Linked DNA regions of Homo sapiens: regions 1, 3, 4, 5, 6 and 7 are each linked to region 2. Evidence: promoter capture Hi-C in 16 types of primary human blood cells and fetal thymus (Javierre and others, 2016). All regions are on one chromosome and are shown on one strand. The core of a region is centred on a gene start or on the middle of the fragment in contact, and the rest is flanking DNA. Distances in the headings are between cores, read along the strand shown.

The links. Contacts are between HindIII fragments. The CHiCAGO score rates a contact against its expected background, and 5 or more counts as called.
Region 1: a contact is called between a fragment that was not itself captured here and the fragment with the promoter of SLIT1 in region 2, in 1 of 17 cell types (erythroblasts). The highest score is 5.0, in erythroblasts.
Region 3: a fragment that was not itself captured here is called in contact with the fragment with the promoter of SLIT1 in region 2 in 2 of 17 cell types (naive B cells and total B cells); the score reaches 6.3 in naive B cells.
Region 4: a contact is called between a fragment that was not itself captured here and the fragment with the promoter of SLIT1 in region 2, in 2 of 17 cell types (naive B cells and total B cells). The highest score is 6.1, in naive B cells.
Region 5: a fragment that was not itself captured here is called in contact with the fragment with the promoter of SLIT1 in region 2 in 2 of 17 cell types (naive B cells and total B cells); the score reaches 11.0 in naive B cells.
Region 6: a fragment that was not itself captured here is called in contact with the fragment with the promoter of SLIT1 in region 2 in 2 of 17 cell types (naive B cells and total B cells); the score reaches 7.0 in naive B cells.
Region 7: a contact is called between a fragment that was not itself captured here and the fragment with the promoter of SLIT1 in region 2, in 1 of 17 cell types (total B cells). The highest score is 7.0, in total B cells.

The regions. Positions count from the first base shown.
Region 1 is chr10:96,405,876-96,408,975 of GRCh38, forward strand. The region is part of intron 9 of TLL2 (tolloid like 2); the gene reads right to left. Among named protein-coding and RNA genes, the nearest start is that of OPALIN, 48 kb to the left of the region's middle. The HindIII fragment of the contact is 1,140 bases long and covers 959-2,098 here.
Region 2 is chr10:97,184,466-97,187,471 of GRCh38, forward strand. SLIT1 (slit guidance ligand 1) reads right to left here and starts at 1,494. Exons shown (of 37, transcript NM_003061.3): 1 at 1,013-1,494. The coding sequence starts at 1,209. All of the region lies in intron 11 of ARHGAP19-SLIT1 (ARHGAP19-SLIT1 readthrough (NMD candidate)), which reads right to left. RefSeq lists enhancers at 1,338-1,838, 1,839-2,339. The HindIII fragment of the contact is 4,998 bases long and covers 1-3,006 here.
Region 3 is chr10:96,482,587-96,485,878 of GRCh38, forward strand. The region is part of intron 1 of TLL2 (tolloid like 2); the gene reads right to left. Among named protein-coding and RNA genes, the nearest start is that of TLL2, 30 kb to the right of the region's middle. The HindIII fragment of the contact is 2,724 bases long and covers 368-3,091 here.
Region 4 is chr10:96,459,054-96,462,321 of GRCh38, forward strand. The region is part of intron 2 of TLL2 (tolloid like 2); the gene reads right to left. Among named protein-coding and RNA genes, the nearest start is that of TLL2, 53 kb to the right of the region's middle. The HindIII fragment of the contact is 1,785 bases long and covers 941-2,725 here.
Region 5 is chr10:96,388,733-96,392,065 of GRCh38, forward strand. All of the region lies in intron 13 of TLL2 (tolloid like 2), which reads right to left. Among named protein-coding and RNA genes, the nearest start is that of OPALIN, 31 kb to the left of the region's middle. The HindIII fragment of the contact is 7,459 bases long and covers 1-3,333 here.
Region 6 is chr10:96,427,851-96,431,208 of GRCh38, forward strand. TLL2 (tolloid like 2) reads right to left here. Exons shown (of 21, transcript NM_012465.4): 5 at 781-898. Among named protein-coding and RNA genes, the nearest start is that of OPALIN, 71 kb to the left of the region's middle. The HindIII fragment of the contact is 976 bases long and covers 1,526-2,501 here.
Region 7 is chr10:96,369,185-96,372,282 of GRCh38, forward strand. TLL2 (tolloid like 2) reads right to left here. Exons shown (of 21, transcript NM_012465.4): 20 at 881-1,131. Among named protein-coding and RNA genes, the nearest start is that of OPALIN, 12 kb to the left of the region's middle. The HindIII fragment of the contact is 3,669 bases long and covers 1-3,098 here.

The DNA of each region.
Region 1 (3,100 bases), core at 279-2,778, 780 kb before region 2:
CCTTCTGAGTGTCAGCCTGTGCTGGCCAATTGAGATAGAAAGATCAGTAAGACAGGGTCCTTTGCCCTTGGGGAGCCCAGAGAAGGGGGGAAAGGCAGATGGGCCAAGCCAATGAGAACACTATGGTATAAACACTGAAAAGAGAGGGATTGTCATGAGGAGCATCTTGGCAGCCCTGTCTGGACATCCCTGAGGTCAGGTAGTGGATGCTCCCATGGCCAAATAGGTGACTACTTAGTAGGGGGAAGGGGAGGGCTGGGTGGTCCCAGGGGCTGGGCCTCAGCACACAGGTGCTGTACCTGTGAACTGGCTCTGGTCCCCCTGCAGCCCACCAGCTCGGGGCTCCCCTGGCAGATGGCCCAGAGCAGAGTTCAGATTTCCCCTGGCCTTTCACCCCCACGCAAGTTCCACTAAACCAGGTGCCTGTGGCTCCTCCCACTGTCCTGAGGTGCAGTGGCTTGTCTGGCCCAGGCTCACCTTTCCTCATGCCCCACACACCTGCTCCATCACGTCTCCACTCTTCCTCATCTCCAGCCCTGACCCAGCCCCTGCACCCCTGACTCTATTCGTTTTCCAACCCCGGAGGACTTTGCTCTCAGCAGTTCCTCTCTCTCCAGCATCTCCACTCACTGCCCCTCCACTAGCCACTTCTTTATATTCAAACAGCCCCAGGGGCCCTCTAGCTCTAAGTAAACCCTTAGGCTGGAAGGCTTCCTCAAAGGTTCCCATTCCCTCCCCACCAAATCTAAAGGACTGTTATTTGGCCTTGTGCCCCATGACCCCTCTGCCCAGAGCTTATCCTTTCTGGTTTTCACCACACTGGCCTATCTTCTCCCCACTGCTCTTGCTCCTCTGCCCTTCCCGCTCCCTACTAGGTGAGAGCACCTCCAAACAAAGCATTTCCTTTCCAGCCTCCTCCACTGTAGGAGATGCCATTGCCCCGATGGTCAAGGAGCCAAGCTTTGGTATTATCTTTCCTTCATCCTTACTGTTGATCCCCCATATCTGTTCAGCATCCATGCTGCAGCTCTTTTTAAGATATCCGCATCCCTCCCCTCTAACCCCATCTCGCTCCTCCTGCCTCACCCCCTCCTGGATTGCTCCCACACGATTCCTGGACTCCTCCCTGCTGTGGCCCCATTTTTTCTACACACTGGGGCTTCTAGATCAATATTCCACTCATATCTCATGTTTACCAGACCCCTCCCAATCTTCCACCCATATATCATGTTGACCAAACCCCTCAGGAAACCTCAGTGGCTCTCTGTGCCCCCATCTCATGAATTAAATTCTGCTTACTTTCCACACCCCCAGAGCCTGTCCTGTGCAACCTGTTTCCCAGTGTTCCCTGACAGTCCCATGTCAGAGAAACCCTTCCCAGGCCTGCTCAAGTGTCCCCCTCCTCGAGCCTGTGTCTGATTGCCCTGATGAACACGATTGATCTTTGCCTCTTTGGAACGCCCCACCCTCTGTCTTATAATGATTCTAGAGCCGGTGTCTTTAGATCTACCTAGATCTGGATTTGCTTCTCAGCTCCATCTACTAGCTCTGGAGTCTTGGGGAAATACTTGCCCTCTAGTTTCCTCATCTGTAACACAATACACACATCACTGTGCTATTGAGGGGACTGTGCGAGAAACCATATATAGAGTGTATATTGCTATGCCTGGCACACCATAGGCACTCGATAAATAGCAACTTAAAATACCAGGTAGTCCACATTGAGTGTACACTTAGCATACCACAACTAACACTAACCACACCTCGCAAGCTGCCCATCTTGATTAGTGTTGAGTGCCCATCCCTTCCCTTGGGCCCATCCCACCCAATGTTTCGTCTCAGGACAAATCACATCTTCCACAAAGCCCTGCGATCTCCTAGGAAACGAAGTCAGTGCCAGGAAAAAACAGGTCAGCTCACCTTCTGTCATTGAGTGTGTGTGCGCGCACGCGTGGGTGCATGCATGTGTGAGCATGTGCATGCATGTGTGTGCGCACACGTGTGTGCGTGTGTGTGCATGTGTGTGCGCACGCTGTCACTCCTCTTTCAAACTAGACTGTGTTTTTCGACCCTACTTGCACATTAAAATCAACTTTGAAGCTTTGAAAAAGCTCATACCAAGCAAACACCCTTCCTTCCATTAAATCAGATTCCCTGGGAGTGGGGGGAGGGGGACCCAAAATAAACAGTCTTAAGACAGGGGTGTGCCTTAGATTTCTGTCCTATCCCACACCGTGCTCATATTCAGGTGGTAGAGCTTAGTAACACCTGTAAGCTGGTTGCACAATAATTCTTTAGCCTTTGCTTTTTTAAAATTACAGAAAGGAAATGTTAGTACAACTTCCTTGGTAACACATTCATGATCTGAATGAATGGGATAATTATTCAGGCTAATTATTTTAAGTACATTAGTGAACCATAAAGACCATAGGGGAAAGAGGTGGTGAACAAGAGGTGATACTCGAATCAATCAAGTTTGCTAATTACTTGCAGCTCTGGGGAAAGCTGGGTGAAGCAGAAATGGAAATAATTGGTGCAGAAATTTCAATGATGTATATTCTCTCTGTCCCCAGTTAGCACTAATAATTAAGGCTTGATGAAGTTTACACAGTTCAAACATATCACACACCCTCTGCTGTGCAGAGCAATTCAATAATTTAGAAATTACCAGACCTCTTCCTCTTCCCCCTTTCTGCCTCCCTCCTGTTAGCCTCCAGCAGGCACATGGATTTCACATCTACCCAAGGCAGACAGGTCTGGGATCTCAGATACAAGATGACAGCCATACTTAATGTCTTAAATGCTTAGAGCCAAAGGAAGGATGTATACATGTGTGCCCACACATGTGCATTCATGTATGTATATAAATGCACGTTAAAATGTCTATCTACTAGCCTGGCCCCTTTGTGTAATAATATAAGATGACAGTCAAGCATTCAGGCTGTCAGAGTCCAATTGCCTGGGTTCAAATCCCAACTCTGCAACAAACTTAGAAGCCTTGGGCAAGTCCAATTCCTTACCTGTAAATAAGTATGGCAACAGCACCTATTTCACAAAGTTGATGAGAGGACTAAATTAGATGATCCACATGATATGCTAA
Region 2 (3,006 bases), core at 244-2,743:
GGCCTCACGCTATTAAGGTGGCCCCTTAATACTAGGAATTCACACAGAAACACATTCTGCAGGAGAGTCACAGAAAACAAAGTATAAAGGTCTGTAAATACACACACTCAAACACACCCAAACACACACACACACATTCTACTAGCTTACTGGGTCTAGAAAAGAAAAGGATCAAGTTTCCTCAAGAATTCACAAGTGAGACAGAACAGGGGAAGAGAAATGCTATTTTTTTATTACTTGTCATGGTCAATATCTTTAACCTTGGGCCCCCCTCTCCAAGCTCCTGACTTCTTGGCATTATCCACCGGGTTCTCCATCCAAGACACACCTGCCCCTTTTCGGGTGCTGAATGTTACATACCCCAAGCCCCATACCCAAAGCCCTCAGGTCCCATTGTCTGCCTGTGTTGGGGATGGCTGGGTGTGGAGGGAGGCGGGTGAGTAGGGGACCAACGCGTGGCACCTGCAGGGGAAGAATTCTCAAGGCTCTGGGGCAAACAATGGAGAAGAAGGGGCAGACCAGAAACTTCGCCTCCATCCCACCCTGCTGCCCTTCGTCAGGAGCAAGCTCTGGGAGCGGGAATCTGCGCAGCTGGCTCAGAACGCGGCCGTAGCCCCATGTGCCCAAAAGGAGACATTGTGCTTGGCGAGTGTGGGAAGTGTCCCTCCTGGGTGCAAGGAAGGCTTTCTGACACCAGTTCGCAGGCACCCTGGAGGAATAAAGCGCTGGCGCAGTGAGGAGGGCCTGAGGGTGCGGAGTGCAGGGTGCAGGGTGCAGGTGTGAGGACGGAAGCTGACAACCCCGCCGAGGGCCCTTTGAATCCCAGGGATGGGGAAACCACGGCGCTCCTGGCTCCTGGCTCGGGAAAGACCCCGGCAGGCACTGACCCGTCTGTGGGCTGCGGAGCCCGGACGGGCCCCAATGGTCCTGCCCCCACCCCCAAGTCCGGAATTGCGTCTGGGTGGGAGGGCAACCTCGGAGCCAGGGAGCCAGGGGCGGGGACCATACTCACAGGCGCTCGGTGTTCCGAGGTATATTCTTGGGAATGGCCTGCAGCCCCGTGCCGTGGCAGTCCACCGTGGTTCCGGTGCAGGTGCAGAGGGCGGGGCACGCCGAGGCACCCAGGCGCCACGCGGCTGCCCACAGCAGCAGCCAGAGCTCCGGCCGGACCGGCCCCGCCGAGGACCCCCACCCGGGAGTCAGCGCCATGGTGCCCTCACAGCGTCCCGCTCGCGAGCCAGACGGCAGCAGCCGCTGACCATCCCCGTCCGGGGCCGCCTCCAGGTGCAGTCCCGGGGCAGAGCCACCGAAGAGCCCGCGGGCTTGCGCGCGGCGCCCCTGCGGGCTGGGAGGCACCTTGCTCCTCCAAGCGACGGCGCCTGTGCGCGGACGGAGGGAGGGCGCCTTGGGCGGAGGGGGCTCGGCTCCTCTGCCGTTTCGCCGCCTGCGTCTCCCTCTCCCTCCCTCCAGCTCCCAACTGACTGCTGCGAGGAGGAAAATGGGCAGGCCCCGCGCGCGCACGCACCCTGCGCACACACCACACACACACACACGATCACACACACACCCGCGCGCTCGCTCCCACCCGGCAGTCATCCATCAATCGAAAAGCACACATCCAGGGCCAGGCTCCTCCCCGCCCTCCCCCGCCGCAGCCCCCCTCTCCCGACGACCACTCAGCGGCTGCAAGCCGCCTACAGTTTCAAAGGTGGAACCTCCGAGGCGCCGTCAGCGGGCACGGGGCTGCGGGGGATGGGAGAAGAGGGAAGGGGGTGTGACTCGACCCGCCAAGTCCTGGCTGTACACACACACACACACACACACACACACACACACACACACACACGGCGAGGATGCGCACATTTAGACGCACGCACCCCGGCACCCGCGGCCCCAGCTGCTAGTCCAGGGTGGGAGGGAGATCTTATTTTGCCGCTTGGACGCCTTCCCGGGGAGTCAGACCCGTTTCCCCCCATCCCCCGACGGCAGCAGCGGCCTCTCGGCCCCACCCGACTCGCTGTGTCAATTCTTGGTTAAGGGAAACCCTGTGCCTGTGCCCCAGGTAGCATCCTCAAGCCACCAACCTTACTTAGCCTGGACTTTGAGGATGGAGCTTTGTCGGGGGGGAGGGTCCACGAAAGCGCTAGGCGGAGTACAGTCTCCTTCCTACCTCAATGCACCCACTTCTCAGAGGGGAACAAGCTAGCCGCATGCCCAGGATGAGAATGGCTCTGATTGGAACACTTGCTCAGCAGGGCGTATTTGTACCATACAGTTACACGGGCTTCTTCCCCCGTTGTAGAAGAGAGGGACAGACATTAAGGGGACTTGGAAATCTGGCAAACGTCTTCCTCCACTCACACCAGCGTTCCTCCATTTCTGACAGGTGGAAACAGATGAAAATGAATATTCCATCTTGACATCAAAGGAGACAGAGAGGGCTGGCATAGCGCTGGGCGGCCTGCTTGGGAGAGAACCCCACAGGCCAGCCCCGTCAGACCCAGGCCTCACACCCGGCTGGGTAGGGACCTTCGTCACCGTAAGGCATGTGTGGACGTGGGTGTGAACGGGACATCCAGGTGGGGAGAGAATTCTCCTCAACCCCAGAAAAGACGAAAGATCTCCTCAACGCCAAGGACAGCTGTGGCTCGCTGGGGCAGTGTCCAGCAGTCGGGGCCTTGACGTGAGGCTGCTTGGCAAGAGGACACAGCTGGGTAGCCCGAGAAGCACCTCCCGTCTCAGGAGCGGCCTGGGTCCAGACACAGCATGGACGCATTTGGTGGGGAGAGTGTCGGGCAGGGTGGGGATAGGGGAGGTTGATAGACTCCACAAGGTTGAAGCCTTATCACCCACCAGGTACCCAAGGCTCAGGCGTTTTCTTTGCTTTTCTTTTCCATGTTGATGAGAATTTTGCAGTCTCTCTACTGTCATAGCACAGTATGTTACAATTTAGGTGGCTGATTTTATGGGCTTTTGACAGTTCTTTTAAAGTTTTCACACATCCCT
Region 3 (3,292 bases), core at 480-2,979, 700 kb before region 2:
ATATGATTCAATTGATATGAAATGTCTACAAAAGGCTAATTTATAGAAGTAGAAATATTTGTAATTGTTTAGGACTGGGGGCAGAAACAAGGATCGACTGTAAATGAACATGCAGAAATTTGGGGGTTGCTGGAAATGCTCTAGAACTGGATTGTAGTTATGGTTACACAATTATAAATTTACTAAAATCGCATGTACACTTACAATAAGTGAATTACACAGCATGTAAATTATACTCAAGATGTCTGTTAAAGAAAAAAAATTCAACCTTGTAGCAAGAACCAACCAAGATGGTACCTGGTAAATCCTTTCAGTTGAGAAAGAATTGTTCAGATAAAGAAAACTAAGAATGTGTTTCTCTCGCAGAAGCTTCATAAGTGCAAGGTAGCAATAATTAAGTCTGGAGAGAGATAGACATGTTTAGAAAATAACTGTATGTGGCTATGGCACACACAGCTGAACCAAACAGATAAGAAGATGATTAATGTTGTAGAAAAGCGTAGGACCAAAAAAAGTCATTAGCATGGCCTATAAGAGGCTGCTAATGTTTGACACTTAAAATGACACAAAATGACCCTTGGGCCTCCATCCTTGTATGGGAAAGAAACAGGCTGAAAAAGCTGCCCCCATGAAGGGCATATTCTCTGATGCCCTCTCCAGATGTGGCTAAGAATAAGGGAAAAGGAAGGGCAGGACCTCCCAGAGTGTGGAGCTCAAAGCCACACAGGGAAAATGAATGGAGAGCTACTGGCAGGAGGTGGCATCAGGGCCTCATGAAGGAACGTTCCCCATCCTAGGCGCCTCTTGCAACATGTGTCCAGCCTGATTTCAGAACTGTTATGGATCAGTGACTGTTGTGCCTCCCAGTCTTCCTCTTTCCAAATGGAAGTGTTTGTTATGGTTATCCTGTCCCTTATCTATCATGGTATATTGAGTATGTATTTTGGTGGTGGGGTGGGGAAGTATATGATTGTTTTAAAGTTCACTAGTCTTTGGATGAAGAGGAGTCACATCCTGACTTAGTATAGAGATGATCACAAGATCTTGGACTTGGAGCCTGGTACCATGACTGGACAGGACTTTGGGGAAAGGTAAGTATGTTGTATATACGGGAGGAGAAGGAAAGCAAGTATTTGTTACAAGAGGGGAGGAGGCCTGTGACAGAGTCTATTATTGTTCATCATTTTTGCTGCTTCTCCTGGGTACAAATTATACTTCCCCCTCTCTCAGATGTCAGGCTTCACCATGTGATTTATTTTATTTATTTATTCTTTGAGATGGAGTCTCTCTCTGTTGCCCAGGCTGGAGTGCAGTGGCACGATCTCAGCTCACTGTAATCTCTGCCTCCCAGATTCAAGCGATTCTCGTTCCTCTACCTCCCATGTAGCTGGGATTACAGGCATGCGCCACCATGCTGGCTAATATTTTTGTATTTTTAGTAGAGATGGGGTTTCACCATGTTGGCCAGGCTGGTCTGTAACTCCTGACCTCAAGTCATCCTCCTGCCTCGGCCTCCCAAAGTGCTGGGATTATAGGCATGAGCCACTTCGCCTGGCCCACCATGATTTTTTTCTGGCTAATGAAAGTGAGGGGAAGTGACATGTGTCACTTCCAAGCAGAACCTGTAAGACCCAGCACATGGTTTGCCATGTTCTCTTTTCCCAAAGCCATAAGACAAAGGATATTCCGGAAACAGCCCGCTCTATCAGGCTGAGACATAGAGTGAAGATGATATGATCCAGGCTGAACATGTAACATGAGACAAAAACTTCTGTGGTTATAAAGCATGGATACTTAAGGATTATTTATTCCTGTATCATAATCTAGATTATAATGATTGACACATACAGCCTTTGCAAAATGATCTGTATTCATATTCTGGCTTTGGCAACCTCGCACATATTACTCAACCTCACTGAGCCACAAATGATTCATCTATAGAGATAATATTGCCTATTCTGGAAACCTGTTGAGAAAATTAAATGAGATCATGTACACATAAGTACACACACACACACACACACACACACACACACACACACACCATGGCTTTCTTTTTTTTCTTCAATAGATATAATCTTTCTTCAGTAGATGCAATCTATTGAAGGAAGAAAAATAAAATTTATGGAGCAATGAAGAACCAAGCCCTGTACTCGACACATAGATGCTTTCCCTGCAGAGATCAAATATAATTTGAAATTTGAAACCCAAGTAATCCATCCAAGCTGTCCATATTACAAAATCTATAAACTGCCTCATGCTTCTCCCTGTTCTTGGCACATAGTAGGCGATTTCCCCACAGAGGTCAAATATAGCTTTCGAAACTTTGAAACCCATGTCATCCATCCACGCTGTCCATATTGTGAAATCTATGAATTGAGACTCATGCTCCTCACAGCATTCATTTTTATATTTCTAGGTCGGAGTTTCCCAGATCTCCATCTCCCTTTTTTATTTAGCCACAAGCCACCAGAGGCTTTTAAAAGAAACAAATGTGCAAAAGAATAAAGTTGAATTCCTACTTCAAGCCATATACAAAATTTAACTCCAAGTGAATCAATGACCTAAATGTAGGAGCTAAAACCAAAAAACTATTAGGAGGAAACATCAGCATAAATCTTCATTATCTTGATTTGGCAATGGCGTAGATATAACATCAAAAGCATGAGCAACAAAAGAAAAAATAAATAAATTAGATTTAATCAAATTTATAAATTTTTGTGCATTGTGACATTATCAGAAAAGGAGGACATTATCAAGAAAGTGAAAAGACAAATTACAGAATGGGAGAAAATTTGTGCAAGTCATATATCTTATAAGAGCCTAGAATCCAGAATATAAAATGAACTCTTACAATTCAACAACAAAAAGGCAACCCAATTAAAACTAAGCAAAGGATTTGAAAAAACACATCTGTAAGGAAAAGATATAAATGGCCAACACATGAAAAGATGCTCAAAAGCATCAGTCATTAGGGAAATGCAAATCAAAACCACAATGAAGTACCACTTCACAGCCATTTGGATGGCTAGAATAAAAAATTAGAAAATAAAAAGTGTTGACTGAATACAATAACTGTCTCTCAATTTAAAGCTTTTCTTGGGGACCCAAACTTTGTACAAGGAAGTCTATCTGACAATTCCTTGAAATCTGACTGTCATCTAGAACTCCCTTGAAATGTGTGACAAGGTTGGTTTGGTCAAAGATGGTTTCCGGCTGCCTGCGCTGAGCCCTTCGGTTTCCCACTTCCCTGAAGATTTGGCACAAGACAGTCCACGGTGCAGCGCCATTT
Region 4 (3,268 bases), core at 583-3,082, 730 kb before region 2:
TTTTATCGCAATTTATGAAAATAATAAATAAGTAACAGAGAGAGATTCCATGTTCCTCAATGGAAGGGGTAAATGCTATGAATGTGTCATTTTCCCCAAACGAAGTTATGGGTTTAATGCAATCATGACCTAAATTCTAAGAGGATTTTGCTGGAATCCTCTCATGTTTTTGTAGAAAATGTTCCTCAAATTCATCAAGAAGAATAAATGAGTGAAACTCTTCAAGAAGTTTCAAAAAATCAAGAGCAAGGGCAATGAAGAAGGATGTACCCACCAAATATTAAAACATATAAGGCCGGATGCAGTTGCTCACACCTGTAATCCCAGAACTTAGGGAGGTTGAGGCAGGCAGATCACGCTCACACCTGTAATCCCAGAACTTTGGGAGGTTGAGGCAGGCAGATCACTTGAGATCAGGAGTTTGAGACCAGTCTGGCCAACATGGTGAAACCCCGTCTCCACTGAAAATACAAAAATCAGCCGGCACCCCTGTAATCCCAGCTACTCGGGAGGCTGAGGCAAAGAAGAATCACGTGAATCTGTGAGGCGGAGGTTGCAGTCAACCAAAATTGTGCCACTGCACTCCAGCCTGAGTGACAGAGCAAGATCCTGTTTCAAAAAAAAAAAAAAAAAAAAAAAAAAAAAAAAAAAAATATATATATATATATATATATATATAGCAGCTAAAATGAAAAGACACATGGATTGCTGGATATAAATGCTAACTCTATATATAAAAACACACTCTCTGATAGAGGAGACATCACAGACACAGGGAAAATATGAAATAGATGGTACTGAGATTATTATTTAGAACTGGGGGGTATCAGTCCTACCCCAAAATAAAACCCAAATGGATTGAAAGAAAGTATAAGAAAGAAATTTCAAGTACAAATAAACCATATGGAAAAACTCTACCAAAAAATAAATTATTTCCCAAAGCTTCAGTAAGAATAATTTTTTTTAAGTTTAGAAGTTTAAGAAAATTTGGTTTGACATATTTAACTTCAAAAGCCTTAAAAGTTTGTATAAAATTTCAAAACCTTTGTATGTGTTGAGTAATTCCCCAAAATGAAAACAAACCACTCATATAAGGGAAAATACCTGCATTGAAGATAATAAATGATTACTATCCATATTATATAATTTGCCCATGCAAATCAATGAGAAAAACTTTGTATCCAATAGACGTATGGAGAGGGGAAATTGGCAAACACTTCACAGAAGAAATTCTAATTTAGTAGATGCTATATATAGACTGAATGTTTTTGTGCCCCCTCAAAATTCATATGTTGAAATTGTAACCCTCCAATGTGATGGTATCTGGAGGTGGGACCTTTGAGAGGTCATGAGGGATCAGTCCTCATGAATGGGCTCATGCCTGATATGGTTTGGCTTTGTGTCCCTTCCCAAATCTCATGTCAAATTGTAATGTCCGGTGTTGGAGGAGGGGCCTGGTGGGGTGTGATTGGATCATGGGGGCAGACTTCCCCCTTGCTGTTCTCATGATAGTGAGTGAGTTCTCACAAGATCTGATTGTTTAAAAGTGTGTAGCATTTCCCCCTTCTTTCGCTCTCTCCTGCCACCATGTGAAGATGTGCCTGTTTTCTCTTCGCCTTCCTTGTAAGTTTCCTGAGGACTCCCCAGCCACACTTCCTGTACAGCCTGTGGAACTATGAGTCAATTAAACCTCTTTTCTTCATAAATCGCCCAGTCTCAGGTAGTTCCTTATAGCAATGTGAGAACAGACTAATACAATGCCCTTATAAAAGAGACCCCAGAGAACTCTCTCATCCCTTCTGCCATGTGAAAACACCACAAGAAGATACCATCTATGAACCAGGAAGCAGGCGCTACCCAGAAACTGAACCTGCCAGCACCTTGATCTTGGACTTCCCAGCCTCCAGAACTGTGAGAAATCAATTTCTGTCATTTATCAGCCACCTAGTCTATGACATTCTGTTACCGCAGCCCAAACCAACTAAGAGAGTAGATAATCATATAGAAGACGTTTAGCCTTGAGAAATGAAGATAAAAGCAAAAACAAGATACCACTTTCCAGCTATTAAATTAGCAAAATAAAAAATTTAATGGTATGGCTCAATCATGAAGAGTCTGGTGGAAGTGGACTTTTCATTGTGTGAGCAGTTTATTCAGCAAGTTTATTATGCATCTAAAATGTGCCCATCACAGGACTAGGCACTGGGAATGCACCAATACATAAGAATTCACATACCTCAGGCAGAGTCCATGGTCCAGTGTGGGAGAAAGAGGAAGCAATGTGGGCATCCGGAGGCTGCCCAGAGAAGGGTTGACTGATCTGGATGGAAAGGCAGGAGGGGAGTGGCAAAGATCTTCCACACATGGAGGTGCGGATGAGGGCAGCCTACAGAGGGGAGGCACAAGGCCTCAGCCCAAGCTCTGCCTGAATCTGATCCCAGCACGCCTTTCCAACTTCTCTCCCCAACTCCCAGGACTCACCCTCCTGCCAACCACCCTGGACTCTACACTTCCTGTGCTGCTCAGTTCTCACTGCCAAATTCTCACCTCCATGCCTTTGTTTAGCCTCTGCCTTCCACCTGCAATGACTCCCCTGCACTGCAACCCTGATGAAAATCCTTCAAGGCCCACCTCAATCTCTTCCATGAAGCCATCTCTGTCCTCTGTGCTTCTTTTACATCTCTTCCAAGGCCTTGTGCTCATGCATTAATTCCCTCATTTGACAAGCTTCCATAGGGCACCTCTCTGTGCCAGGCACCATCCCAGGTGCCAGAGAGACAAAAGCGAATCAGATACAGTCACCACCCCCAAGGAGCTCCTGACACTCACCATATCAGTCCCATAGTATAATTCTGTGTGACCCCATCTATCACCCCTATAAGACGCTCTACTCCTTAAGAACTGGAGCAACATCCTCTGCATCTCCACCCACACGGTGTTCACAGCAGACGCTTACAAAATATGTCCAGGTGAAGTGGACTGAATTGGATTGGCCAGTACTTGCATATATTATCTCAGTTAATTCTCACTGCATCTGTGTGGGCCATTATTATTGTGAGGTATTATTATCTGTAAGTTATTATTATTGTTATCCCCATTTTACAGATGAGGAGACTGAGGCTCAATGAGGTAAAGTCCTTGGCCTGTGGTCACTGTGGTGTTTAGCACAGCTGAGAGGGTCTGCCTCCCTGCCCAGCCCTTTGCCTCATTGTTCCTTCCCCTAGTGTTCTAACAGGAGCAGAGATGGAGGATGAAAACCTCCAGACAG
Region 5 (3,333 bases), core at 288-2,787, 800 kb before region 2:
CCCCTTTCCTTCCAGTCGTCCTTGTCTGTGATGCACAGACTCCTCATCAACCTGGTTGCATTTCACTCGGTAAAGGAGGGTTTGTAAATATCCCATCATTTCACATAGGGGACAGTGAACTTGGGTAACTCTAATGGTGATGTACTCTTGGGCTCAATAAAAACTTATATAAATTAATTGCTTATTAGGGGAGATTGCGTTTAGAGAGACAATCCAGGCAGGGAGCTGAAGTTGCCCATCGCCTCAAATAAATGTAAGTAATAAGTATGCTAAAATAGTAACAAGTGTGCAGTTACTTTTTTTATCACCTTACCAAATTGAAAGTATTTTCTTAGACATTTGCTAAAAAGCATAGAAAGAAGAAAATAGTTGATAAAAAGTAGCGGAAAGAGTCCAGGCTTTAAAGTGAGTCAGACCTGGGGTGGATCCTCCAGCCGATCTTCCTCCAATAAATTGGGTGACTGCTTGTGATTTAGCCTCACTGAGCCTCCCTCCTGCTTTAAAGTGAGAATGATAATATTTACTTTTAGGGTTGTGACGACTGAAAACGATGCATGTGAAGTACCCGGCATACAGACCATCGGCACACAGAAGCCATCATGATAGACAGCAGCAGAGTTGCTTTCAAATTTCCAGTGAGTAGAGAGGCACAATGATGGGGCAGTGAAAAGATAAGGTTCCCTGGGCATACCTGGACCAGGTGGGAGTGGAGCAGTGCAGGCCTGAGGAGGGAAGGGAGACAAGGCAAGAACAGAAAGAAGGAAAATGCTTCAAGGATGGGCCAGTGGAGGAAGATGGACGGGCAGGAGGGCAGCACAGCAGAAGAACTCAAGACACTGGCTGGGGGACCTAGGGAAGAGGCAGAAGGAAACCAAGGAAAGAGCCCATTGGGAGAGACAGATAGACAAAGGACCAAGGCTGGGGTCTGCAGGAGACTCTGATACCAGAAGATGCTGTGGCTGTAGGCAGGACACACAGGCAAGAAAGAGGTGCACAGAGGAGCAAGTCTCTTGGCACCATCTTAGCCAGGTGAAGGGAGAGAGCCCGGTGGATGGACCTAGGGCAAAAGCAAAGAAAATATAATTCCTCCAGAGACTAGAAGGTAAGGTGCTCGGCCTTGGGAGGTAGATGAAAGGCATGCTTTTACACCTGAGCTCTCTCTAGCAAGAGCCGTGAGATGTTTGGCCAGTTACAGCCCTGCTTCAGCTTGGCTAGATGGCACAGAGGTGCATGGGGCCTCCCACTGTGGTAAAGCAGCACCTGCTCCAAGCCCACTGGCTCGTGCTTGCTCTGGGCTGCAGAGGCCAAGGCCAAGGCCAAGCCTCCCAGAAAAATCTGGGAGAGCGTGGCAGTAGAAGAGACTGGAAGCAGCATTCAGCTTAGCATAGCAGGAGCTCTGGAGTCTTCTCATGGTCCAGGTGGAATTAGCGAAAGAAGGAAGTAGTTAGATGATGAGACGGCTCAGGCAGGATCCCAAAAATTGTTCAGAGAAAGTTAAGGAAAGGGAAGGCAGGGCATATTCTTAGGCTTTTGAAGAAATCCCTTGAGGGAAGCCAGTCCCCCTACCAAGCCCTTCATGGTGACCTATCAGCACTGGGATAGGGGGATGGAGGGATCAAGGTGGGAAATCTTTAATTCTTTATGTGGGGGGCATAGGACCAAAATGGCCCTGCCAGCCCTTGAGTGCTGCTGCCTTCTCCCAAAGTAACCAGAATTGTTAAGGTTCTCTGCTTGCTGCCAGCCAGTATGCTCTGAGAAGGCTGCCATCTGGCACCAGAATCAGGTACAGAGGCCAACTGGCACCCTGGCCAGGATCAGGCGCCAGCTGGGCCCTGGGCAGAGCACCTGCCAATTGGCACCAAGGCAAGAGCTTCTTTGGCTTGCTCCAGCTCTTCTGCTGGGCCTTTGAGCTCCTCTTCCAGCTTCTTTCACTGGAGAAGTTCTGACACACGTGCTAGGTACGTTGTGTTCACAGAGCATCTGAATGATGGCCTTGTTGGGAAAAGGCTGGGCTGGGGAAGCTGGCTGGGTACAGTCTCCTGACCTGCGCTGTCTGATACGGCAGCCCCCAGCCACATGTGGCTACTGAGCACCTGAAACGCAGTTGGTCCAAGTGGCGATGTGCCATGAGTATAAAACACATGCTGGATTTCCAAGACTTAGTGTGAAAAACATAAGATCTCTCACTAATATTGTGTATATTGATTACATATTAAAATGATATTATTTTGTACAATAAATAAAAATATCATTGAAATCAATGTCACTGGTTTCTCCTTTTTTGTAAGGCAGCTGCCAGCAAATTCAAGGTCACCTATGTGGCTTCTGGTTGTGCCTCACATCCCATTTCTGTTGGACAGTGTTGCACGAGGCTGTGGTCGCTCACCCACTCTTCTTCCAGAGAGTCTTGCAAGGGAGGCAGAGCAGGCAGCAGGATGCCCACTCCACCAGCAGGGAAACTGAGCCCCATTCATTCATTGATCTATCCATTCTTTCATTGCTCACTAGGTATTTACTGAGCCTACTGTGTGCCAAGCACTGGGACCACAGTGAGGAGCAAAGCAGGTATGGGCCGGTCGTAGGAAGGAAAGCTGATCTGCAAGAGAGCGAATAGCTAGTAGGGAACATGGGACCAGCACCTCAAACTCCACTTGCCACGTCCAGAGCCCTTTTGCCTATACCTCTGTGGTATCGGGAAGGTAGAAAGGTGACCAGTGTCAGAATCAAATCACAAACACTAAGGAAAAATTCCACCCCCTTCACGTTCCTTCCCTGTGGCTTTCAGGTCTCCTTAGTGGAAACAGAGCGGATTGTGGAATCCTACAGATCCAGGTTCTAGTTCCAGCCCAGCCATGTTAGGAATTCAGCTTCCTCAACTGGAAAACGGGGGCAATAATAATTCCTACCAGGGGATTGTAATGAAGAAAAGTGAGATAACCTAGATCCTGGCACGTGGCCAGCATTCAGTAGATGTCCTTTCCCTGATTTAATAGGTCTAGATGAGGTTTCTGTTAATCCTGATTCCTACTTTAAGATTCATGGTCAAGGTCAATGTTGTATATTTCTTCTTTTCTAAATGTTGTTCTCTGCAGTTGTTTTAACCATAAAAAAGTCAAGCTGGGTCTGTGCACTAAGTTACTTTGGGTGGGCCTTAGTCCACACTTTGACAGGCATCTGAAAAGATGTTTGCAAATTGAAATGCCCTCCAAGTAGGACACTGGGTAACCTGGGCCCCGTCGCAGACTGAGTCTCACAGCCTCCACCAAGGTCCACACCCACACAGCAATGTCATCGCGCATTTGCTGCTAATCTCCTTCACCACCATGAGCACTT
Region 6 (3,358 bases), core at 764-3,263, 760 kb before region 2:
ATGGCGGGATCTCGGCTCACTGCAATCTCTGCCTCCCAGCTCCAAGCGATTCTCCTGTCTCAGCCTCCCAGGTAGCTGGGATTACAGGCATGTGCCACCACACCTGGCTAATTTTGTATTTTTAGTAGAGATGGGGTTTCACCATTGTTGGTCAGGCTGGTCTGGAACTCCCGACCTAAGGTGATCTGCCCACCTCAGCCTCCCAAACTGCTGGGATTACAGGCGTGACTCACCGCTCCTGGCCGGGTTTGGGTTTTTGATCCAACATGAGAAGCTTTTCAGTAGGAAAGTATATCATACATATTTATTGACATAACAGATAACTTTAGTCATAAGCCAGTCATTTTATTACATATTATGTTTTCTGAAGGAAGTTTGTAAACCTGTAGAATCCCTCAAATTAAATGCAAAATTTTACATACATATTCATCTATTCTTGAAGAAGGAAAGCCCACCGCTTCATCAGATTCTAAATGGGGACACAAACCCCAAGAGGTTAAGAACCACTGCCTTAAGTCTTCACATGACACACCACCAGTTCCTTCTGTTGCTCTTCTAGTGCCAGTACCCCTGGTCTTCATGGAGTCTCCTGGAATCTTCCTCTTGGCCCATCAGCTTTGCCACTGGATTGTAATTTCACCAAGGGCAGAAAGTTTCTAGCAAACCCTGGACTCCTCTAAATAACAGCTCATTGGAAATACTTAGGTTTACAGAGAAAATTCAACACTCATGAGCCATCCGACTGATTCTGCAGAGGTGGCCTCGCTTTCGTTTACTTACCCACAGGTTCTGTAACTGAATACAATAAAGCTTTCCTCATCCGTCCTTTCTATGAAGGTCACACAGGTGTGCTTCTCCCAGTGTCTCATGGCCTGCTTAAAAATGGCCCTCTGGCTCCCTGAAACAACAGGGCAAGCACTCGACTTCAATGATGGGTCCATATTTTCTTTAGATGCTTTTTTTTTTCTTTCAAGACGGAGTTTTGCCTTTGTTGCCCAGGCTGGAGTGCAATAGTGCGATCTCGGCTCACTGCAACTTCTGCCTCCTGGGTTCAAGCGATTCTCCTGCCTCAGCCTCCCCAGTAGCTGAAATTATAGGCATGTGCCACCACGCCCGGCTAATTTTGTATTTTTAGTAGAGATGGGGTTTCTCCATGTTGGTCAGGCTAGTCTTGACTCCTGACCTCAGGTGATCCGCCAGCCTCAGCCTCCCAAAGTGCTGGGATTACATGCATGAGCCACGGCACCCAGCCTCCTTAGATGCTTTAAAGCATGCTGAGTTAAGACAAAGGATGTTCCAACAATTAAAAAAAAAGATTGTTAATAATACTGTATTGTTTACTTGAAATTTGATAAAAGAACAGATTTTGTGTCCTCACCAGCCCCCAATGTAAGCATGGGTGGTGATGGATGTGCTAATTAATTTGATTATGGTGATCGAGACATAATATATCAAATCTTCATGTTGTATACCTTGAATATATACAATTTTTATTTGTCAATTAAATATTTTCAAAAAAAAAAAAAGCTTGTTCAGAATAGAAATACTCCAGGAATTTTCAGGAATCAGGATTTCCCTTGCTAAAAACACAACGTAACTTTTCTGAGCTGCCAAAACCTAGAGAGTAGGAGTTTGTGGATTGGAAGGGAGGGTAAAAATAGATTTTCAAAATATCCTGGGCTTCCCAAATTTTCCTTTGTATTGAAAGTATTTTCCAAACTTTTACAAAACCTTATCCAGGTTTTTCGATTTGGAAACTGCAGGCTTTTGAAGTAGGGGGGAGTCAACTCCAGCTCACCAGCACTGCACTTCGCCCCCTCATTTTCTTTTAGACCTGTAGGGGGGTGCTCCCATGCACTTTAAAATTTCTATTTGCATGTACATCTGTGTACTTTTGCACGGGGTTTCAGTGTCTTGTGGGGAATCCTTGAGCCTAATTTTTCTTCCAGGCCTTTGAAAATAGGTGAACTTCATACTTTCTCTGAACCTGTCTTGGTATTTCCTTGAGTGGAAATTTGCTGAATAATAAAACTCCAGGCTGACAGTTACGTATAGTCAGTCAGTTCTTTTCAAAATCTAGAAGGAAGACTGTTTAAATTTTCCTAGAAGCAATGAGAAGGATCTAGGAAAAAATAGTTGTCTGGGAAGTATGAAGGATGGTGGGAGTTGGAGGTCTGAGTTCTACAGGGCCCTCATTGCAAAACAAAAACAAAAATTACAAGCAAAACAAAACAGCTGACATCACTTGGATGTTTGTCCCCTTCAGATCTCGTTTTGAAACATAATCCCAGTGTTGGAGGTGGGCCTGGTGGGAGGTGTTTGGGTCATGGGGATGGGTCCCTCAAGAAGGGCTTAGTGCCATCCCCTTGGTGAATGAGCTCTCGCTCTGAGTTCATGAGAGATTTGGTTGTTTAAAAGTGTGTGGTACCTACCCCACCTCTCTCTTGCTCCCTCCCACCATGTGATGTTCTGGCTTCCTGTTGCCTTCCGCCATGATTGCAAGCTTCCTGAGGCCTCACCAGGAGCAGATATGCTGCCACCATGCTTCTCAGACAGCCTACAGAGCCGTGAGCCAAAACAAACTTCTTTTCCTTAGAAACTACCCAGCCTCAGGTATTCCTTTAGAGCAACACAAATGGACTAGCACAACAGCACTGGGGGAGGCTCCCATCATTGTCTGCAGGATGTGGGGATGGTATCATATTGTTGTCCCCAAAAACATTCATATAGAATAAAGAATAACAGCTGGGCATGGTGATTCATGTCTGTAATCCCAGCACTTTGGAAGGCCAAGGCAGGTGGATCCCTTAAGCTCAGGAGTTTGAGACCAGCCTGGGCAACATGGTGAAACCCTGTCTCTACAAACACTTAAGAAGAAAAAATTAGCTGGGCTTGGTGGCACACGCCTGTAGTCTCAGCTACTCAGGAGGCTGAAGTGGGAGGATCGCTTGAGCCTGGAAGGTTGAGGCTGCAGTGAGACGTGATCATGCCACTGCACTGCAGCCTGGGCAACAGAGTAAGACCCTGTCTCAAAAAAATAAAAGAAAGAAAGAAGAAACAAACAACAACAACAAAAAATAGAATAACTTAACTGTCCATTTTTTTTCTGACATCTTGACATTTTTTGTTCAAATTGTTTATAGCTCAATCGCTCACCAAAAATAGCAACCCTACTAATTATCTAATAACATGAAATACTTGTGTCAACAAAATTCCTATATATAAAATTAGTTAACTTTGATGAAAGTAATATAAATCTTTGGTCAGAAAAGCACACCAGATCTGAAAGAACACAGTTAGGATACCAAGGAACAAAAGTCTGTAGTGGTTTATAATTTCTATTTTTTTTCTTTAGGCA
Region 7 (3,098 bases), core at 502-3,001, 820 kb before region 2:
GGAGTGACTGGGACACTGTACTGGCCAATGCGCAAACTCCCACCAAGCACCAACTATATGCCAAGCCCAGTGTCAGGTGCTGGAGAAACAGCAAACACAATAGGCCCACTAAAGAAATCAATAATGAGAACATTGATAATGACCTTGAGCACAACTATTGTGTGTATAGTAAGTGACTTGTAATTTTCAGAGCATTTGGTTTTGCTTGAGGAGAGAAATGTGAATATAAGAAATATATAAAAGCATAATTAAATATTTTTAAAGCCTGAAGGCCAAATAAAAATGGAGGAGAGTGGCTGCGCATGGTGGCTCACGCCTGTAGTCCCAGCACTTTGGAAGGACGAGGCAGGTGGATCACTTGAGGTCAGGAGTTCAAGACCAGCCTGACCAACATGGTGAAACCCCGTCTCTACTGAAAATACAAAAATTAGGTGGGTGTGGTGGCGCATGTCTGTAATCCCAGCTACTTGGGAGGCTGAGGCAGGAGAATCGCATGAACTCAGGAGGCAGAGGTTGCAGTGAGCCGAGATCCAGCCTGGGCGACAGAGCAAGACTCCGTCTCGGGGGAAAAAAAAGAAAAAAAAAAAAAAGGAGGGGAGAGGGAAAGCCTTTGCAAAAATAGGTGAAAGTCCCAAAAGGAAAAGTGCTCTTCCATGGCTGGCCTCAGTAAGGGGCCTTCAAGGACTGGTCCCTGGCTGCCTCCCAACCTCCTCTCCTGACGGTTCTCCTGCTTCCCACTCCGCTTCTGCAGAACGTGCCTCCTCGCCGTTGCTCCTAAGTGGAGTAGGTGGCCGGGACTGAAAGCCGGGCGTGTCTGACTCCACAACTCCTGCTGTGAATCATCACACTCTGCCCCGGCCCCAGCGTCTCCGGGACTTACCCCAGAGCCACAGAAGCGGCCGAGCCTGGGCGCTGAGCTGTCGTAGCCGTCGTAGGCTTCCATGTAGTCGTAGCCGCAGTCGGCCTCCTCCTCAACCTCAAAGGTCCGGAATGTCAGCTCCACGCCGTAGCCGTCCTCTGCCACGATCACCCAGTCACAGCGGGCCTCGCTCGGGTAGTTGTTGTCCCCAAACTGGGCGTGGGAATAGAGCTCTTTGGTCTGCACTTCAGCCTTCAGCCTGCCCCCGCACTCTGGAGCAGAGAGAAGTGAGATGTCCCCTCAGCACAAGACACCCTCGTGCCTCCCGCCTGCGTCTGCTCGGCTTTCTCTACAGAGCCTGGTGCGTGCCTGGCAGGAGAGGCCAGGTAGTCTCGTCACCCCATTTGATGGAGGAGTACACAGAGGCCCCTGGCTCCCAGGTCAGGGCTCCCTCGGGGGTGCAAAGTGGCCCTCACAAGCCAAGGTCCCCTGTTCCCAGCTTGAGAATACGTGAGCATGCCATTGAAAAGAGTTGGCTGCTTTTTGTTTTTTCCGGTTATGGAGACATGGAGCCAATGGACGGTTCGCCTCACTGGTCGCTGGGATATGGGTGGATCTATTTGCCACTTTATTCCCTGGAAGTGTTGGATGCATCTGAGAAGGGCTCCCACTCGCCCCACCGACTGACTGCAATTTGTCATTTCTGCCGACAGAGGGCGATAAAAGCACATCGGAATCGCGGGTAAGCTCTCAACCCTGGAAACCTCAGACCCTAAATGACTGGTTTTTGCATTTGAGGGCATTGACTATAGGCCAACTTTGAGGTCCCTGTGGGTGTCACAGGTGAGCTGCACCTCAGGCTCTGGGCTGGTATTCTGTAGCCTTTGTTTCTGGGTTTTTTCATTATACAAGGACAGTAACTCTGGTTGGCCCTGGTCCCATATATAGTACCTTGTGTCTTGGACACTTAAGCCCACATAAAATAAAATGGATATTGGCCGGGCGCAGTGGCTCATGCCTGTAATCCCAACATTTTGGGAGGCCGAGACGGGTGGATCACTTGAGGTCAGGAGTTTGCGACCAGCCTGGCCAACATGGTGAAACCCTGTCTCTACTGAAAATACAAAATTAGCTAGGTGTGGTGGTGGGCGCCTGTAATCCTAGCTACTCGGGAGGCTGAGGCAGGAGCATCTCTTGAACCTGGGAGGCGGAGGTTGCAGTGAACTGAGATTGTGCCACGGCACTCCAGCCTGGGCCACAGAGCAAAACTCCGTATCAAAAAAAAAAAAAAAGTAAATAAATAAATAAAATAGATAGATAAGACTGGTCTAGATTAGCAAGCACCAGAAATTCTGGAAGCAAATTCTTGCACAGCCCCTCCCCAGTGTGCTCCATGCCCCCCGAGGGGCCCAGGCAAACGCTGTTGTAGATTCTGGGCCACCTGGCTCCTAACACTCCTAGGCCCCGCTGGAGCTCCACGCCCTGCCTGGCCCCGGTCCTGTCTGACTGACCATTCTGAGTCCTGTGTTGGCTCTGGCTTAGAATGTCTTACAGGTCTAACCTGTCTTTGGGAAATTTCAAATTCCTGAGAGCTGGGTGGTCATGAAATGAGCACAGAGCAGGGTGGGACGCCTCCCCTCCATCCGGCCGGACGCCCCCACCCTCCCCACCTGCCTGGGCCCCGTGAGACAGACCCCTGGCCTACATCGATGACCCCGTGCCTTCTGCTGCAGGTTCAGCCATGGGGAGCACCAGCAGATCAGAGGGAGGGAGGCGAGAGAAGCCAGGGTATTTAGTCCCCTGATTGCCACAGCTTTTCTTCCACTTAGGTCACAGCTGCAGCCAGAGGGTCTCTGCATGCAGTCCTCTCTGTCTCCAGCTTCCAGGAACTGCTCCCTCCTCTCATCCTCTGGGCCTGGAGTTGCAGTTCCTAGCTCTGGTGGCTTCATTGTCCTACAGTGTCCCATACTCTCCCACCCCTTTGTAACTTGTCCCTTTATTAACTTCTCTCAAATAATGACTCTGAATGTGCCCCCACTTCCTGCCGGGACCCTGAAGCACCTGTGTTCCTGCTGGTCTCTATCTGCAGGGACAAGAGGGCTTTTAAACTTCCCTGTAGGGAGCTAGAACTCCTCAGGGAGTTTGACAGGGTTCCACAAACCATGCAGCGTTTTCTGCTGTGCAAGAGGAGGCTGAACTGCCTCAGGATGCTGGTCGCCATTTTGTTTGACCTAATTTA